2 separate regions of the Homo sapiens genome follow, and region 2 is linked to region 1. Evidence: promoter capture Hi-C in 16 types of primary human blood cells and fetal thymus (Javierre and others, 2016). All regions are on one chromosome and are shown on one strand. The core of a region is centred on a gene start or on the middle of the fragment in contact, and the rest is flanking DNA. Distances in the headings are between cores, read along the strand shown. Region 1 holds the start of RBM4B (RNA binding motif protein 4B). Region 2 overlaps ZDHHC24 (zDHHC palmitoyltransferase 24).

Evidence for each region. The method cuts DNA at HindIII sites, captures the fragments that hold promoters and counts their contacts. A CHiCAGO score of 5 or more calls a contact.
Region 2: a contact is called between a fragment that was not itself captured here and the fragment with the promoter of RBM4B in region 1, in 12 of 17 cell types (naive B cells, total B cells, total CD8 T cells and 9 more). The highest score is 16.4, in naive B cells.

What each region holds. Positions count from the first base shown.
Region 1 is chr11:66,676,419-66,681,136 of GRCh38, forward strand. It overlaps RBM4B (RNA binding motif protein 4B), which reads right to left and starts at 1,469. Exons shown (of 4, transcript NM_031492.4): 1 at 1,346-1,469; 2 at 250-673. The coding sequence starts at 661. RefSeq lists silencers at 1,082-1,191, 1,392-1,671. The HindIII fragment of the contact is 1,797 bases long and covers 483-2,279 here.
Region 2 is chr11:66,540,631-66,545,023 of GRCh38, forward strand. It overlaps ZDHHC24 (zDHHC palmitoyltransferase 24), which reads right to left. Exons shown (of 3, transcript NM_207340.3): 2 at 3,074-3,351. Among named protein-coding and RNA genes, the nearest start is that of ZDHHC24, 3.2 kb to the right of the region's middle. The HindIII fragment of the contact is 297 bases long and covers 1,271-1,567 here.

The sequences.
Region 1 (4,718 bases), core at 219-2,718:
TCCCGCAGGGTAAAGTAACCCACAGTTTGTGATTCTATGCAGTCGGTGAGCAACATCTTAGCAAACCTGAAAAGGGGAAGTGTTTGCTTCCCCAGGGGTAAATTATGCTTAAGAGCGGTAAACATAATCTATTATTTCCAGCTAAAACAGAATGGAAGAGACCACCCAGCAAGTTCTATAGTCTTGTGTTCTTGCCTGTTTTGAGCTAGACCCCACTCGGCGCTACTACCCAGGCCCAGAGCAGTTCACCTTGAAACTCTGTGTTGTCAAGGCCCCTGATGGCCTCCACTGCATCCTCTGCCCGCTCCATGTGTACGAAGGCATAATCTTTCACGATGTCACATTCGATGACCGGACCATACTCCTCAAACTTGGCTCGAAGCTCTTGGTTGGTACAAGTGGGGCTGATGTTACCCACGTGTAACTTGGTTGAAGCTTTGCTCTTATTCTTGCTGGCTTCCACGTTGATGTTCACCCCATGAAGCTTGTAATGGTGCAGGTTGCGTATGGCATCCTCAGCTGCCGTCTTGTCTTCTATGTGCACAAAGCCGTAATTCTTAATGATGTCACATTCCAGCACCTTCCCATACTGCTCGAAGAGTGAGCGAATCTCCTGCTCTGTAGCCTCCCGGGGAAGGTTTCCGATGAACAGCTTCACCATCCTGACAAGAGCCTGGGAGAGAAACACAAGACTTCAAAAGTCAGGGGTGTGGTGGGAAATTTCGGTGCACTGCAGCATTTTCGTCTAATCCTCCAAAGTTCTTGCACCTTCAAGACCCTCGTACAGACATTCATTATTCTTCCTCAATAGAAGAAGGGCGGTTTGTTCTCGAGAAGTGCGAGCTATGCGTGACATGCAAACAGGAGGTCGAGGGTCAGCATGCATAGCCCAGTCTATCATCTCCGTGAAGTGGAGCGCAATGAAATACCAGAATTAGCTGCTTCATGTCTTAAAATGAGGGAAGAGAAAAGCCCAAGCAAAGGCAAGGGGCATCAATCGCAGTGCGCCTGGTAACAAGGTTTTGGAGGGAAATCTGTGTACCTCTCCTGCGCGCACTAGCGCCTTTCAAGATACTCTAAAAAGAAAAAAGTCCCCTTTCCCCCAAACCGGGGACCAACCACCTCGCCCCCAGCGGCCCACCCTCCAGCTTCTTCGCCCCAACAAAGACTCGACCCGACCCCTGCCCCGCCTCCTTCCGGAGACCCGGCCCCGCCTCCTCCCGTTGTCTTCCCAGACCTCCCGCTGCAAAATGAGAAACCCAAATCCGGGCCGTGCAGTCTGCCGGAGGCCCGGCCCGACCCGCCCCCGAGCTCCCCACATCACACACACACGACCCCCTCGCACCTCCGGGTGGCGGCAGCGACGGCGGCTCCCACGTCAGAGAGAACCTTACAAAATGGCGACGGCCGCTCGAGCCTGGACGCGACCGGGCCCTTTCTCGCGCGCCAGCTCACGCACGCGCGAGTGCGCGCTGCTTCCCTCCCCTTCCCCTCGCGGGAGCCGAGTGACCAATCCCGAGGCTGCATACAAATGACCACGCAGCACGGGGGCGGGGCCTGTTGGTGGTGGCGCGGCGCCGCGGAGGTCAGCCCACCCCCAGCCCCAGCCAGCCAGTCACCACCCTGGAAAGGGTCGCCACTGCTGCGTCAGAGGGGCTCTGAACGCAACCACTGCCTAGAAAAGCGGAGGCCTTGGGGAGTCGCTCACCACAATGGGTCCTGCTCTTGGGCCCTTTGAGGGGGGCGGGGAGCTAATGACAGAGGAATCTCCCCGAGGGCCCTAAAAAGGGGCTTTTGTAGCGGGCTGGCCGGCTTCTGTGGCAGCTTGGGGCAACATTTCAAAAATACAGGTGCGCCACATTTTAAGCAAAACTAGTCATTGTTTTGTAGCGCTTTAAACATTATTTTAAAGTTTGTCATTGCAGAGGTGTTATTTATTGCTACGGAAACTGAGAACCAAGGGGCAGAAAGATAACCTGGCAGAACTGGGACAGGCCTAAGAGGCATTGCTACCCAGGCTACGCTTAGTCATGTTTTGTTTGCTCGTGAGTATCCGTGGTCTGATTCTCTCTCACTCATTGTGTGTCCATCACAGTCCTGGTCTGTGGTGAGCACGCCAGAGGAATACTTGGTGGAGAGGCCCAGCGAGGTCCCTAGTTCTGGGTGGGACAGGGTCTCCTCGTACACACCAAGCTGGAAGTCTAGGCAACTGAGTTTCCCGACTGTCTAGCATTCAAAATTCAGCTGTGGTCCAAGGGCACCTCCTGGCGGTAAAAACAAGCTTAGGCGTGCCAGGTGCGGCGGCTCACGCCTATAATCCCAGCACTTTGGGAGGCCAAGGCGGGCGGATCACGAGTTCAGGAGTTCGACACCAGCTTGGCCAACATGGTGAAACCCCGTGTCTACTAAAAATACAAAAAATAGCCCGGCGTGGTGGCGGGCGCCTGTAATCCCAACTACTCGGGAGGCTGAGGCAGGAGAATCGTTGGAACCCGGGAGGCGGAGGTTGCAGTGAGCCGAGATGGCGTCACTGCACTCCAGCCTGGGTGACAGAGCAAGACTCGGTCTCAAAAAAAAAAAAAAAAGAAGTTTAGGCTGATTCCCCACTGTCACCTTCCAGCAAAGAGTAGCCTTTTATGGAGATTGATGGATTGGGTTTATCTCCTAGTAGAGCCCGCCAGGGAGGTTGTCAGCCACCATTCCTCATTTTAGTGGCTCCATAATGGCTTCTCTGATACCATCTGGGACACATTCCCCAGGCTGCCCTCTTCCACCCCAGCTACTTGGATATGTTCTTTACCTGAGTTCTTTTTGTTTCTCAGCCATTTCAGAAGAGGCACTGTCCTTCCAATTTTATTTTATTTTTATTTTTTGTTTAATTTTTTAAAGACAGAGTCTCACTGTGTCGCCCAGGCTGGAGGGCAGTGGTGCGATCTCGGCTTACTGCAACCTCCACCTCCTGCGTTCAAGCCATTTTCCTGCCTCAGCCTCCCGAGTAGCTGGGACTACAGGCGTGCGCTACCCCCCAGCTAATTTTTGTATTTTTAGTAGAGACAGGGTTTCACCGTGTTGGCCAGGCTGGTGTCGAACTCCCGACCTCAAGCGATCCGCTGGCCTTGGCATCCCAAAGTGTTGGGATTACAGGCGTGAGCCACCTCGCCCGGCCCTTAACTATTATTACTATTATTTTTGAGTCAGGGTGTCACTTTGTTGTCCAGGCTAGAGTGCAGTGGCACCATTATGGCTCACTGTAGCCTCGACCTCGCAGGCGCAAGTGATCTTCCTATCTTAGCCTCTGGAGCAGCTGGGACCACAGGTGTGGGCCACCCCATCCAGCTAATTTAAATTTTTTTTTTTTGTAGAGATGGGGGTCTCACTGTGTTGCCCAGGCTGGTCTCAAACTTCTGGGCTCAAGATGTTTCCACCACAGTCTCACAAAATGCTGGGATTCAGGTGTGAGCCACTGCACCCGGCTTATATGTGCTGCTAATTTAAAATAGCACTATCCTATGTTAATATTATCTAATGTTTATGCCCAAATTTCTCCTGGATTGTTACAAATGTCTTTTTACAGTTGATTTCTTCTAATCTGGACTTAAACATTGTACATTTGTATGCATTATGTAAATGGTGTGTTTTGAGTTGTATAGCTGTGTCTTACTATTTTTCCACTAAGGGCTATGTCGCCGCATGATGTCTAACTAGCGAGTAACGCAGTCCTCTGTGGTGTACAGTCACATATTGTACCTGTTCATCTCTGGGCATAGGGCACTCAGCTTCCAGCTCTCTGTCATTATAAACAAGGCTGCAGTGAACATGCTTAAGTATGTGCCCTAATTCTGTGTGAGAATTTGGGGGGATATAAAACCAGAGGTGGAATTGCTGGGTCATAGAGTATACGTAGAACTCACCTGTCTAAGTAGCACTGAATTCTCTGGAAAAGCTGCACCAGCATACTCTTCCACCTGTAGCATATGAGGGGCCTTGTATCTCTACATCCCTGCCAGTGATAGACATTATCCGCTTTTCTAATTTTTGTCAGTCTAATAGATATAAAGTGATATTTCATTGTTGCTTTAATTTGTATTTCTCTGGTTACTAATGATTTTAAGCATCCCTTCTTGTTGTCTTTTTTTTGTGTGTGATGGAGTCTCACTCTGTCGCTCAAGCTGGAGTGCAGTGGTACTATCTCGGCTCACTGCAGCCTCTGCCTCCTGGGTTCAAGCGATTCTTCTGCCTCAGCCTCCTGAGTAGCTGGGATTACAGGCGTGTGCCACCACCACGCCCGGCTAATTTTTGTATTTTTAGTAGAGACGAGGTTTCACCATATTGGTCAGGCTGGTCTTGAATTCCTGACCTTGTGATTCGCCCACCTCGGCCTCCCAAAGTGCTGGGATTACAGGTGTAAGCCACCACGCACAACCTTTTTTTTTTTTTATTAGACGGAGTCTTGCTCTGTCGCCCAAGCTGGAGTGCAGTGGTGCGATCTCAGCTCACTGCAACCTCCGCCTCCCAGGTTCAAGCAATTCTCCTGTCTCAGCCTCCTGAGTAGCTGGGACTACAGGCACGTGTCACCACACTTGGCTGATTTTTGTATTTTTAGTAGAGACGGGGTTTCACATTGGTCAGGCTGGTCTCGAACTCCTGACCTTAGGTGATCCACCCACCTTAGCCTCCCAAATTGCTGGGGTTAAAGGCGTGAGCCACTGTGCCCAGAC
Region 2 (4,393 bases), core at 169-2,668, 140 kb before region 1:
GGCAGGATAATCGCTTGAACCCGGGAGGTGGAGGCTGCAGTGAGCCAAGATTGCGCCATTGCACTCCAGCCTGGGTGACAGAGTGAGAAAAAAAAAAAAAGCCATTCTCAGTTACTTAATGTGTGCCGCCACAGAAAAGCCAGTATCCTGTGCCATCTTGGCCCACAGTCAGCAACAAGTACCTGCTGAACTAACGGACTACGAGAGGCCATGAAATGTTACTCTAAGTGAGAGAAGCCAGGCACCAAAGGTCACATGTTTATCATCCCACTTATGTGAAACATCCTGAATAGGCAAGTCCACAGAGACAGAAAGATTAGTGGTTGCCAGGGGCTAAGGGGATTAGGGAGGAACATGGAGGGACCACTAATGGGTACGGGGTTTCTTTTTAGGATGAAAATGTTCTGGAATTAGACAGTGGTGATGGTTGCACTACATCATGAATGTACTAAAAGCCACTAAATTGTACACTTTAAAATAGTTAAAATGGGCCGGGTGTGGTGGCTCATGCCTGTAATCCCAGCAATTTAGGAGGCTGAGGCAGGTGGATCACCTGAGGTCAGGAGTTCCAGACCAGCCTGGCCAACATGGAGAAACTCCGTCTGTACTAAAAATACAAAAAATTAGTCGGGCGTGGTGGCGCATGCCTGTAATCCCAGCTACTCGGGAGGCTGAGGCAAGAGAATCACTTGAACCTGGAAGGCGGAGGTTGTGGTGAGCCGAGATCGCGCTATTGCACTCCAGCCTGGGCAACAAGAGCAAAACTCCATCTCAAAAAAAAAAAAAAAACCATTCTGTTTGAAGGTCCTGAGGCAGGCCAGAGGCACTTGTGAGACAAGCAGGTGGACGGTCTGCAGGTCTGCAAGCACAGGGAGAAGCCCAGGCTGGACAAACAGTTCTGCGAGTAGGGGGTGCAAGGCAACCCTGAGACTGTGGGCGCAGCTAGACCTGCCAAAGTGTGTAGAGTGAGGGGGGAATGGCACCTAGACAGGAGCACGGGGAAATCGGTTCTTGGGGATCAGATAAAAGATGAGAAAGGGCAACCACAAAGGAAGGTGAACGCACCAAGGTCCCAGCCATCGGTGATGCCAGGCGGAGAACGCTTCACGGGGGCTGGGGGCCAGCAGTGTCATGAGTCTAAAAGGTCTCATAAAGCAAGAAAGGGTCCTGGAGTGTGTGGAGACAGATCCCTGAGTGAGTGGTGGTGGCAGAAGCCAGGCTGGAGCAGGCAGGGAATGAGCAGCCATGAGCCTGGGCAAGTCCCTTGGGAAGCTTAGAGCAGGGCAAGCGCTGGAGGAGGATATGAGGGCAAGGGAGGGTTTGTCCAAGGTGGCAAACCAGGAGGGCAGAGAAGGCCTGGCCTGCAGGAGAGGCAGATGCCACAGCCTGAGGCCTCCAAGCAGGGAGGTAGGCACCAAATACAAGAAGCTGGGGGCAGTCAGCTGGGCTCGGGGAGTTGAGGACAGCACAATTTGGGATGTGCCAGCTGATGTCTCACTTTCTCAGTGCTGGAGCTTGGAGTGTGGGAGAGCAGGGAAGGTTTGAGCTGCTGTTGCTGGGAGTAGCAAGCTTACAAGCAAACGGGAAGGCCAGGCATAGCCGAGGGCCTGCTGAGGTCAGCAGCCATGAACATGGCATGGCATCAACCTGCCACAGACTGCCAATGCCTCTGGCTCTCAGCAGCCAGAGGCAGACACAGAGAAGCCAGGAAAGCACTGTGGAAGGAAGATGAGGGAGGAAGTTTGCGATGCTGGCAGGAGAATGGTGAGAAGGATGAGCTCTGAGCTGGACGTCGGTGGCGAAGGTGGAAAGGTACAGACGGGCGGTGAGGGCCACGAGCCTGCAGGCTCATGGAGCAGGTGCCAGGGCGTGGAGGAGTAAAAGACGGAGAGAAGAGGAGGTGGGCAGCAGAAAGAGGAAGATGGGTGGTTTGTGAGGGTGACTCATTTTTGGATTCTGACCAGGACTGGGGTGTGGACATGGGAGGAGGGAAAGGAAGGAAAAATGAAGGAGGAGGCCAAGAGCTAAGCCATCCAGGCATTGAGGGGGCTGTTCATGCAAACTTCCAGACACCCTTGATTTCCACAGGGCCCAGGGCGAAGAGAGAGTCTGTGACTGGAGCCAGAGTCTTCCGTGACTGAGGGGAGTGAGTGTTGACCACAAGGTGGTAGGGCAGTGCGGCTGAAGGGCCGGGACTCCTGGAGGGAGGCAGAGGAGGACCCATTGGGAAGCTGGTGTGGGCAGATGAAGATTCTGATAACCCCAGTGGGCCGCTTCCCGAGGCCTCCCCTGGGCTGTAGGTGGGGTCCATGCACAGAGCTGGGCTTGGATAGGATGAGGAGGCACAGTGACTACCCGGAGTAGCCGGGGAGGTTCCTCAACCACAGATCAAAGTGACAGAGGGAACCATGGAAAGGTCAGGAGGAAGGAATGGGGGCGAGAAAGGCCAAAGCATTCTGGGGGTAGAGAACAAAGAGTAAAAAGGACCAGCGAGGCTTCTATCTGTAGATGGGGGAAGAGGAACATATGTGTCGTCTAGAACATGGCATCTCAGGCAGCCTGCTGATCCAAGTCTGCCCTCCCCAGCTTCCCATAACTGGGCCTTCTCCTGCCTGTCACTTTCACTGGCTCCCCACTGTCCAGTCAAATAGGAGCCATCTCCTCACACCAGTTCTCAGGACCCCACCAGCCAGGCCTCCCCTACCAATCTGGCCTTAATTCTCACAATTCCCTGCCCACTCTCCAAGCCTTTGTTCCTATTGCTTCTCTCACTTAGAAATGCTCCTAGAATGCACTTCCACATCCCGCCATGCAGAGACTCCCACGAGTCTTTCTCCTCTCTCAACAACTCCAGGAATCTCCCAATTCTCCAGCCAGAACGCTGCACTTGTCTCAACACACCAGTTTCCATACTGCACCCCCGGGTGAATACCAAGCTGCCCTTACTGGCCATCACTGACACTGGGGCTGGGTCCCCCAGGCCAGAAAGCCCGTCTCCCACCAGAATGGGCTGTACTCCCCAGCCCAATACCAGGGCCCCTGCCTCTGTGCAGAGGCCTCCCAGGCTCCCCACCTGTGAGCAACATGAGCCAGGGAAGCAGGAGGAGGGCAGCCATGTGGAGGGGCGTGTGGGCTCGCAGCAGGGCCGACAGTGCAGGGCCCAGCAGCACAGAGACGTGGAGCAGGACGCCGGCGGCATGAAGCAGCAGGCACAGGAAGGGCCGGTAGTTGCCGAAGCCCACGCAGCGGCCCAGCAGGCGGCAGTGGTGGTCCCGACGCAGGATGCAGACGCGGCAGGCAGAGCAGTGTCCGCTGCGTGGCGGCACCTGGCTTTGGCATTGGTAGCAGTAACTGCAGGAAGGAACCACAGCGTCAGTTCCCCCAGCAGCTCAGATGCCCCATATTGTGCACAGGGCTGCCCCAGAGCCCATCCTGCGGAAGTGGCAACAGCCATTTGCCCTGGCTAAGCCTCAATTTCTTTACAAGTAAATGCAGGCTAAACAAGATGTCCCAGGCCCTTCTAGTTCTAGCACTACAGGTCTGAGGTCTCTTCCAGCCCTAACATCCCCAGTCCTGAGACCTCTCTCAAGCCACTGACATCCAGCAGCAAATCCCTCCCTTCCTCCACGGTCACCCCTTTGTCCAGGTCACTAGGAACTCTCTGGATTACTGCAATAGCCTCTTGACTGGTCTCCGATTCCACCTTTGCCCCACCTCGTACGGTCTCACCCCAGCAACCAAACTGACCCTCCTCTGCTTAAAACCCTCCTGTGGTTCTCCAATTTATTTCTAGTAAAAAGCAAAGCCTTCAGTGTCCTACAACATCCTTCTATCTGTGACATCTCTTCCCCTCTCTTACTGCACTCCAGCCACACTGGCCTTCTTGCTGTTCTGGGAACATACATGCTGGGTACACAACTGCCTCAGAGCCTTTGCACCACTTGTTACCTCTGCCTGGAACACCTTTCCCTCAGATTCCCACATGGCTAACCGCCCCCCACGCCCTCCAAGTTTTTTGCTCAAATGCCTCCTTCTCTATGAGGTCTACCTTGACCACACATTTATGTATATTATTTTAAAAATTAATTAAAAAAAATTTTTAGGGACAGAGTCTCGCTACATTACCCAGGCTGGAGTGTAGTGGTTGTTCACAGGTGTGATCATAGCACACTACAGCCTCAGTCTCAGCAAAAGCCTCTGCCTGGCATAAAATGTGTGTGTAGAGCCTGTACCTGGTGTAATTTTTTTTTCTAATTATAAATTGACAAATTCCAGTTGTATATACTTATGGGATACCAAGTGATGTTATGATTTATCAGTACAGCTTGGAATAAATCAAGCTAATTAGGATAGCCATTACCTCAAACACTCATATTTTTGTGATGAGAATTTA